Regions from separate parts of the Homo sapiens genome. Here region 2 is linked to region 1. The links are contacts of gene promoters, found by promoter capture Hi-C in blood cells and fetal thymus (Javierre and others, 2016). All regions are on one chromosome and are shown on one strand. Each heading gives the region's core, a stretch centred on a gene start or on the middle of the fragment in contact. The rest is flanking DNA. Distances are from core to core; before and after follow the strand shown. Region 1 holds the start of C1QTNF4 (C1q and TNF related 4). Region 2 has its middle 6.5 kb from the start of NUP160.

Region 1 (4,373 bases), core at 949-3,448:
TGAAGTCAGCAGCTTTGTTCCTTGGGAGTGATGGATTGGAGAGGACAGATAGCCAGATCTGGGTTCAGGTCCTGGCTCTACCACTCACACTGTGAAACCTTGGGCAGGTTCCCTAACTTCTCTGGGCATGGCTTCCTCCATGTAAATGGGGAAGAGACCTCACACACAGGCTTGCTGTGGGGGTGTGCTGAGATAGGTGTGAACATGGTTTGTCAACGGCAGTGCTGAGGTGTGCAGATGCTTCTGTCGGTTGCCCTGACAAAAGTGATCTGGTCCAGTTCTTGACGTAAGGGTTTAGGGACTCAGTCACTCCTACCCCTGAGAGCTTGGTGAAGGCACTGCTTAACTCAAAGGAGTCACTCTCTGATGTAGGGATTCCATCCTGCTTCCTAGTAGGGCACGTGCTTTGGGGCTTGAATACCCAAAAGCCCTGATGTGGAAACAAAACAGGAAAGAAATGAGCTGGAGACAGCCTGGGATGTGGGCTGCTTTAGAAAATGCCCTGTATGTGTAGCTCTGTGTCTCTTAGAGACAGCAGGGACCTGCTGAGAAGGGTTGTCAGGTGTAGATGTGCAGAACGTCCCAGCTAGAATCTAGCTCACACTCCACATGTTAGAGCAGCACCTGGCGTAAAGTATGCCACCTTCTCATTCTCATACTAAAGACCCCAAGTTGCTAGCCAACTGAATGCTGTCTCCTTCCAGAGGAGGTGCTTTTTGTAATTCTCACAAAGGTGTCCTATGGATTAGTTAGGTGTCCCTTGGTTAGGACAGGGAGGAGGGAAGGGGCCATCCACAGTGGTGAAGATGGCACCTCACAAGTGTCCAGTGCATTCCCTTTTACAAAGTTCTTTTAGACACATGGTCTTGGCAAACCTACAAGACAGGTGGGCCGTCTCCCATTTTATAGATGAGAAAGCTGAGGCCCAACAAGGGAAAGCATTTTGGCCCAAGGTCACCCATGGAGCACTGAGGTTTTTTGACTCAAATTCCGTATGCCTTCCTGTCACTCTTCCCTCCTAGACACAGGTATGTCCAGCCAATTTGTTCTGTGCCTCAGTTTACCTTTTTGCAAAACTAGGAGAGGAGATCAGAGGAATGAGTCTTGGGATCCAGGGTGAGGAAGACAGAAAGCAAAACCAAACAAAAGCAAGCAAACACATTCTCTAGTGTTTTGTCTTCTGGGAACACGGAAAACAGCTCAGCTTTTCCATACCGCTGCTTTCCTAGTGGGTCCTGCCCCAGAAGCAGCTGCCCAGCAACCTCCTGACCAAGGCTGGTGCACCCCACCAGTGCCAAGGGTCTTCCTGTGCACCCAGTACCCAGCCTCCGTTTCACCCACACTGCCCAATTCCCAGATCCCTGGATCCTCGTCCTTCCCTGAACCCCCTTCCCTGAGCAGGTCAGAGGTGTGGGAGGGTGTGTCAGGTGGGTGTCATAGCTCCAGGGAAGGAAATGGCTGTTCCTGGCTCTGTCCAGGTGGGGTTCAAAATAGTCATCTTCAAAGAGAAAAACTGGGACACAGAGCTGGAGAGACCCAGAGCCCCGGAGCCAAGGCGGGAGGTGCAGCGATGTCAGGCTGAGGGGATCGCAGAGTTCCCCCTTGCCCTGCCACTCACCAGTTAACCCTTCCCTCAAGCCCTGCCAGAGCCCCCTCCCCAACCTACCTTGAAAGCCCCTCATCCTTCCAAGAAGTCCCACTTTCACAGAAGCCAATTAATCCTTATTTTTAAAAAACAAAAACCAATCCCTCTCCCCCGAGACCTTCCCTCCATCCATCCATCCCTTTGGAATGAAAGCCCTTGTGCCTGTTTCACGAAAAGGCTCCCAGGTCCTCCTTTCAAGGAAAAAGGACCCAATTTCCCCGCGCCTCCCCAGCCCTCGCTTCCAGTAAAGGGGGAACCTCGGCTCCCTGCCTCCCCTCAGCTGCCCTCACCTGGCTGGGGGCGGCGGTCGAGTCGGGTTCGGTCTGAGCCCGCGATCTGGCTCCGGGCTGCGGGCTGCGGGCTGCAGGCTGCAGGCTGCGGGTGCCGGGCTGCGCGCTGACCGCCCGCGCTGCGGCAGGGGCGGCGGGGGCTCCGGCTGCTTTTCCCGGCTCTGAGGCGGCAGCGGACAGGGTGCTGGGGCCAGGGGCCGGGCGTGGGGAGGCGTGAGGGAAAGGGAAGGTCAGCTAGAGAGGGAGCCGAGCGAGAGCGAAGAGGCGGGGGAGAGACGGGAGGGGGAGAGGAGGGGAGTAGGGGAGAGGGAGGGGCGAGCTGCGGGGCCTAGGGGCTCCGCACGGAGTCTGCGCCGAGCACTGGACCCTTCCTCATCTGTGACCTCCTTAGAGCTTCGTCCTCTGGGTCTAGAGAGCAGGCATCATTAATCTGAGCAGTTGGGGAAACTGAGGCCAGAGGCAGCAGCTAACGCGGGGTGGCCCAGAGCGCTCTACAGTCCAGCTTCCTTCCTAGTGTGGGGAGAGAGGGCTAGAGCTGGACTCAGAGGCTGGACTAGCCTTTGGGCTGCAAGGACAGTGGAAGGTGAGATTTTGGCTGGGACAGATGTCCAAGCTAAGTGGCCTTGGGGGAGAGGTCTGAAGGAAGAGAAGGATAAATGGGTCAATGTTGCCAGTAAAGGAAGAGCTGAAAATAACCTAGTTTTTCCTCCTCACCTCCAAATTGGAAAATGCCCACGGTCGGTTAGGAAAGAGGGAGAAGGGAGTCTGCAGGCATCAGAGGGGCAGCCTGCGTTCCCCGGGGTGAGGGGCAGTAAGGAGGAGAGTCCTTGGGGCAGAATGGAATTTTCTGCTGGGAAGGTTGCTCCTGCAAGAAGGGACAGGATTGAGAGGGCAATAGGTGGGGAAGAAAGGCCTCTGGAGAGGGAAACTGATGCCCTGCCTCGCTGGGGCCAGGCTAGCAAGAGTCCAGCAGGGCACCCGGGCTGGGAACAGCGGTCTTCCCATGGTAATACTCACCAGAGGCACTAGTGCTGGCCTCTACTCTGGGCTTCGAGCCCGTGGGATGGGGGCTCAGACTCCCTTTCTCTAGGCTGCTGTTCTCTCCCCTGACGGCTGTAGAGGTGACGACACTGCCTGGCACTCAGTAGATGCTGACTGAGTGGATGACTTTTGAAGAGCTCTACTTTCAGCAGCCAAGAGCTGGTGCCCTCTGCCTGGCCCTGGTTGACTCCAGAGCCATGGGCTCTAATTCTGCCTCTGCTGCAGGTCTGCTCTGTGGTCCCTGAGAGGCCTGGACCCCTGCAGAACCCCCGTCCTCTGGAGCTTTCCTTTTGGAGCTCTCAAAGTTTACCCCACCCCAGTTAATCTATTTGTCTCTAGGAAGATGTTGGTAGAGGTGATTGGCTCTGCTTCAAGGGTGTTAGGTGAATGATGGAATGAATTAACGAATATGTGCCAGAATAGAAAGGAATGAATGGAGGTGTTTTGGGCTGGATAATGAGGGTATTTGGTGACAGAGGGTGAAGCACCTGTCTAGCCCTTGTCAGATCACAACTGTCTCTTTCACCAACTTGAAAAGCTTGGGCCACAGGACTGTGGGGAGGACAAGAAGCAGGGTAAGGGTGGGATGAGCCACACAGGGATGTCGAAGGAGAGCTGGGGGATGCCAAAAGCCAACCTATGGCAATCTATGGCCCTTCTTAGGGCCATGGGCCCCTTCTGGATGAGAAGAGTGGAGCTGCTCTCCTGAGGGTGATTCCAATGGTGGGAGGGGAGGGGAGGGGAGAAGGTATATTATAGGATAATATAATCTCAGTTGAGGTTTGGTTCAGGCTGGGATTTGACACTCCCTGGATCCACAAGAGTTCTCACCAGAGAAGTGAGGGTTGAGGTAGAGATGGGTGGCTGGGGCAGATGACATCAGGATTTGCATCAGGGGACTGGGATAGGGAGGAAGCCACTGGGAAAGGGATATAGAGAAAGATGATGCCATGAGCTGGTGGGTGTAAGGCAGATGGGTGGGCTCCAGAATGGGAGTTAAGAAGAGGTGGCAGCAGGATCCAGAGAAAAGCCCTAGGCTGGTTATAGTCCCTGCTCCCTCCTCTCTTGTTTTGCAGCCACAATTTTATTTATTTTTGAGAGAGGGTCTTGCTGTGTCACCTGGGCTGGAGTGCAATGGTATGATCTTGGCTCACTGCAGCTTTGACCTTGCGGGCTCAAGTGATTCTCCCACCTCAGCCTCCCAGGTAGCTGGGACTACAGGTGCAGGTCACCATGCCTGGCTAATTTTTTTTAAAATTTTTTGTAGAGACGAGGTCTCACTCTGTTGCCCAGGCTGGTCTTAAACAACAATTATTTTATTTATTTTTTAATTGAGACGGGTATGGCTGGGCATGGTGGCTTACGCCTATGATATTAGCACTTTGGGAGGCCAAGGT
Region 2 (4,670 bases), core at 1,155-3,654, 260 kb after region 1:
GTAGTCTATATCTGTGTGGACATCACCACTGTGGCCCAGTCTAGAAATCTAGTAATTACCCTGGACTTTTCTCTTTTAATCCCAACACCCAAATCTCATATATCCATATGGCAAAAGAAAGATGGCCACAAATTCTTTGACATTGTTCCCATCCAGAAGTGTAGCCTTCTTTGTCCCCTCCCCTTAAATCTGGAGGGTTCTGTAACTGCTATAAGGAATATAATACAGCAAAAGTGATGCTGTGCCAGCCTAGCTTAAGAGAGTCTACATCTCTCTTTGAAGACTGGCTATAGGGGAAGCAAGCTGCCATGTAAGAAATTTGGCTACGCCGGGGCCATCCTAGGCAGATTGCAGGGAGAGACCACACACAGAGACTCTAATTCTACTTGAAGTGAGAGATGCCTGGTAAGTCCCCAGGTCCCAGATATTTTGTAGAGCACAGATGAGTCATGACCACTGAGCCCTGTCCAAATTGCATATTAATGAGCTAAATACATGATTGCTATTTTTATTTTTATTAAATTAAATTAATTAATTAATTAATTTTGAGACAGAATCTCACTCTGTCGCCCAGGCTGGAGTGCAGTGGCTCAATCTTGGCTCACTGCAACCTCCAGCTCCTGGGTTCAAGTAGAGGTGGGGTTTTACCATGTTGGCCAGGCTGGTCTCGAACTCCTGACCTCAAGTGATCCACCCGTCTCAGCCTCCCAAAGTGCTAGGATTACAGGCATGAGCCACCGCGCCCGGCCTCAATGTACATATTTAATGTAGTAATGTTTTTTCATTTTTTTCTCAGAAAAAAATGTTAAATTGATGAGGCATGTTTCGGTTTTATAGGAATCTAGGAATTACATTTTTTGACAGTGAACACTTTTTAGCTTTAGATCACTGTCTTATCTCCAACATCCATCAGAATTCCGGGAACTTCACGTTACCTAATAAATGTTTGAGGAATAATTAAATGAATGAATAAGTGCATATATGCATTTTTGGAAAACTCAAATACCCTTTGAACTATTAATGTTCTGGGGGATGGTTATAACATAAATTGAATCATATTGCCATCTAGTGGTTAGGTAGTGACTTCGTTTAGAAACAAAATGCAGAATGTTACCAATATTGTGCAGCAAGTTTTATTTAAATACTTTTTTTTTTTTTCAGATGGAGTCTCGCTCTGTTGCTCACACTGGAGTGAAGTGGCGCGATCTCTGCTCACTGCAACCTCTACTTCCCAGGTTCAAGCGATTCTCCTGCCTCAGTCTCCTGAGTAGCTGGGATTCCAGGCACGCACCACCACACCTGGCTAATTTTTGTACTTTTAGTAGAGATGGGGTTTCACCATGTTGGTGAGGCTGGTCTTGAACATCCGACCTCGTGATCCGCCCGCCTCGGCCTCCCAAAGTGCTGGGATTCCCGAAGGCGTGAGCCACCACGCCCGGACTTTTTCTTTATTTTTTTTTTTTTGAGACGGAGTTTCGCTCTGTTGCCCGGGCTAGAGTGCAGTGGGGCATGATCTCAGCTGACTGCAATCTCTGCCTGCTGAGTTCAAGTGATTATCCTGCCTCAGCCTCCTGAGTACCTGGGATTACAGGTGCCCGACACCACGCCCGGCTAATTGTTTTATTTTTAGTAGAAACAGGGTTTCACCATCTTGGCCAGGCTGGTCTTGAACTCCTGACCTCGTGATCCACCCACTTTGGCCTCCCAAAGTGCTGGGATTACAGGTGTGAGCCACTGCGCTCAGCTGAACAATACTGTTAATTGAACTTTAAGCAGATTTTCATAACCAACTTGATAGCTACTCCTTGAAAGAAGAATTTGGTGGTTTAAACAAGTGTGGGAAATGATGATAAATAAAGTTAAACATATTTCTTTCTTGAAGAACTTTTCAAAGACATTAATATAATAGCTTTGTGAAGTTCCAAGAAGGCCTTATGCATGATACTGCTTTCCAGACTCTTTGACATACAGAATACTCTTTTCAAGGGGCAACTCATTGGACCATTGTTCTTTGAGAATATATTTTGGAAAACATGGCTTTACTTTCATTTTGCCCATAGGTTAAAAATATCAGCTGGGCATGGTGGCTCACACCTACAATCCCAGCATTTTGGGAGGCTGAAGCAGGAGGATTGGTTGAGCCCAGGAGTTTGAGACCACCCTGGGCAACATAGTGAGACTCCATCTCTACAAAAAAAAAAAAAATTATCCAAGTATGGTAGTGTACACCTGTAGTTTCAGCTACTTGGGAGGCTGGGGCAGGAGGATCCCTTGAGCCCAGAAGTTCAAGGTTATAATGAGCTATGACTGTGCCGCTGCACTCCAGCCTGGGTGACAGAACGAGACTCTGTTTCTAAAAAAAAAAGCAGAATTGTGGAATAAATGAAGTATGTCAGTGACTTCTCAATTCCGTTTTCAGTATTCTTTCTACCCACTTAGGAAACCACCATGACTTTAGACTCCAGGGCCTTTGAGGGGCCCTGAAAGCCCAGGGCTCCCACCTAGACTTGACCCTCCTGTGCTTTGGACTTATCCTTGGGAACTATACACCCTGGATTGTTTTCACCTTTCAGGTAATATTTTCTATAAATTTCTCTTTTTTTACTTTTTTTTTTTTTTTCTGAGACAGGGTGTCACTCTGTCGCCCAGGTTGGAGTGTAGTGGCCTGATCTCTGCTCACTGCAACCTCCGCCTCCCAGGTTCAAGTGATTCTCCTGCTTCAGCCTCCCAAGTAGCTGGGACTACAGGCGTGCACCACCACGCCCAGCTAATTTTTATATTTTTAGTAGAGACGGGGTTTCACCATGTTGGCCAGGCTGGTCTCAAACTCCTGACCTCAGGTGATCCTCCCATCTCGGCCTCCCAAAGTATTGGAATTACAGGTGTGAGCGACCATGCCTGGCCTTTTAAAAATTTTTTTTTAAATTTTTTGAGACAGAGTCTTACTCTGTCACACAGGCTGGAGTATAAGGTGCAATCTTGGTTCATTGCAACCTCCACCTCCCAGGTTCAAGCAATTCTCATGCCTCATCCTCCTAGTAGCTGGGATTTCAGGCGTGTACCTCTAACAACATTTTTGTATTTTTAGTAGAGATAGGGTTTCGCCATGTTGGCCAGGCTGGTCTCGAACTCCCGGCCTCAAGTGATCCCCCACCTTGGCCTCCCAAAGTGCTGGGATTACAGGCGTAAGCCACTGTGCCCAGCCAATTTTCTGTAAATTTCAATTATGATTCATTATATGATTAGTTAAATGTTACTTCTGTATCTTTGTAGGAGCTTACATGTAATTTAATTCACAAAATCAAAACAAACTCTTGCTAAGGTGGGCGAGGTGGCTCACGCCTGTAATCCCAGCAGTTTGGGAGGCTGAGGCGACAGATCACTTGAGGTCAGGAGTTCAAGACCAGCCTAGCCAACATGGTGAAACCCCACGTCTACTAAAAATATAAAAAAAATTAGCCAGGCATGATGGCATGCACCTGTAATCCCAGCTACTAGGGAGGCTGAGGCAGGAGAATTGCTTGAACCTGGGTGGTGGAGGTTGCAGTGGTGCCATAATGAGCCAAGGTGGCACCACTGCACTCCAGCCTGGGCGACAAAGCAAGACTCCATCTCAAAAAAAAAAAAAAAAATCCTCGCTTGAACCATATGTTCTGAGTTTTACTTCTGAAAATATGAATGCCTTACCTATTAAAACTAGCTCTGGTATAACTGGAAATGAGTTGACATTATAGTAATTCACACTGAGGTGCTGATGACTATAAAAACTTCATAAATTGCCTTTCCCAGAGGTAAGTCATGGCAACATACACTACCTTAACTGGTAGGGCATTGCCCCTCCTCCCTCTCTTGCTAATCAGTTGTGGGAGTCCTTTTCTACTGCCTCGGTATCATTTTCAACAGAGTGATTCAGAGAGCTATCAGCTGACTGGAATTGGCACGTTATCTATATACTCCACTTACCATCTCATTCAAAGGGATTAAACTCTAGTGGTGGAATTGGAGGCATCAACAAAGAACCAGATGTGCAGGTAGCCTCAGTAGGGGCAGTTAAGTTCATCTCAGTAAAATATGTTTAATATTAGTCTTTTTTTTTTCTTTTTTAAGATAGAGTCTCACTCTGTTGCCCAGGCTGGAGTGAAGTGGCACCATCTCCACTCACTGCAGCCTCTGTCTTTTGGGTTCAAGCATTGTCCTGCCTCAGCCTCCCGAGTAGCTAGGATTACAGGTGCTCACCACCACGCCCAGCGAATTTTTGTATTTTTAGTAGAGACAGGGTTTCACCATGTTGGCGAGGCTGGTCTTGAACTCCTGACCTCAGGTGATCCACCTGCCTTGGCCTCCCAAAATGCTGGGATTACAGGCGTGAGCCACCGCGCCTGGCCAATATTAGTCTTAAAAAACAAGGTGGGCCAAGCATGGTCTCGCCATGTTAGCCAGGCTGGTCTCGAACTCGAGGCGGGCACAGGAGTTTGAGACAAGCCTGGGCAACATGGCGAAACCCCATCTCTACATAAAGTACAAAAATTAGCCAGGTGTGGTGGTACATGCCTGTAGTATCAGCTACTCTGGAGGCTGAGGTGGGAGGGAGGATGACCTGAGCCCAGGGAGGTTGAGGCTGCAGTGAGCTAGCTGAGATCACATTACTGGGCAACAGAGACCCTGTTTAA

The links. The method cuts DNA at HindIII sites, captures the fragments that hold promoters and counts their contacts. A CHiCAGO score of 5 or more calls a contact.
Region 2: a fragment that was not itself captured here is called in contact with the fragment with the promoter of C1QTNF4 in region 1 in 2 of 17 cell types (M2 macrophages and megakaryocytes); the score reaches 6.2 in M2 macrophages.

Annotation. Positions count from the first base shown.
Region 1 is chr11:47,592,213-47,596,585 of GRCh38, forward strand. C1QTNF4 (C1q and TNF related 4) reads right to left here and starts at 2,199. Exons shown (of 2, transcript NM_031909.3): 1 at 1,936-2,199. The HindIII fragment of the contact is 4,016 bases long and covers 1-3,512 here.
Region 2 is chr11:47,852,482-47,857,151 of GRCh38, forward strand. No RefSeq gene overlaps it. Among named protein-coding and RNA genes, the nearest start is that of NUP160, 6.5 kb to the left of the region's middle. The HindIII fragment of the contact is 5,986 bases long and covers 1-4,670 here.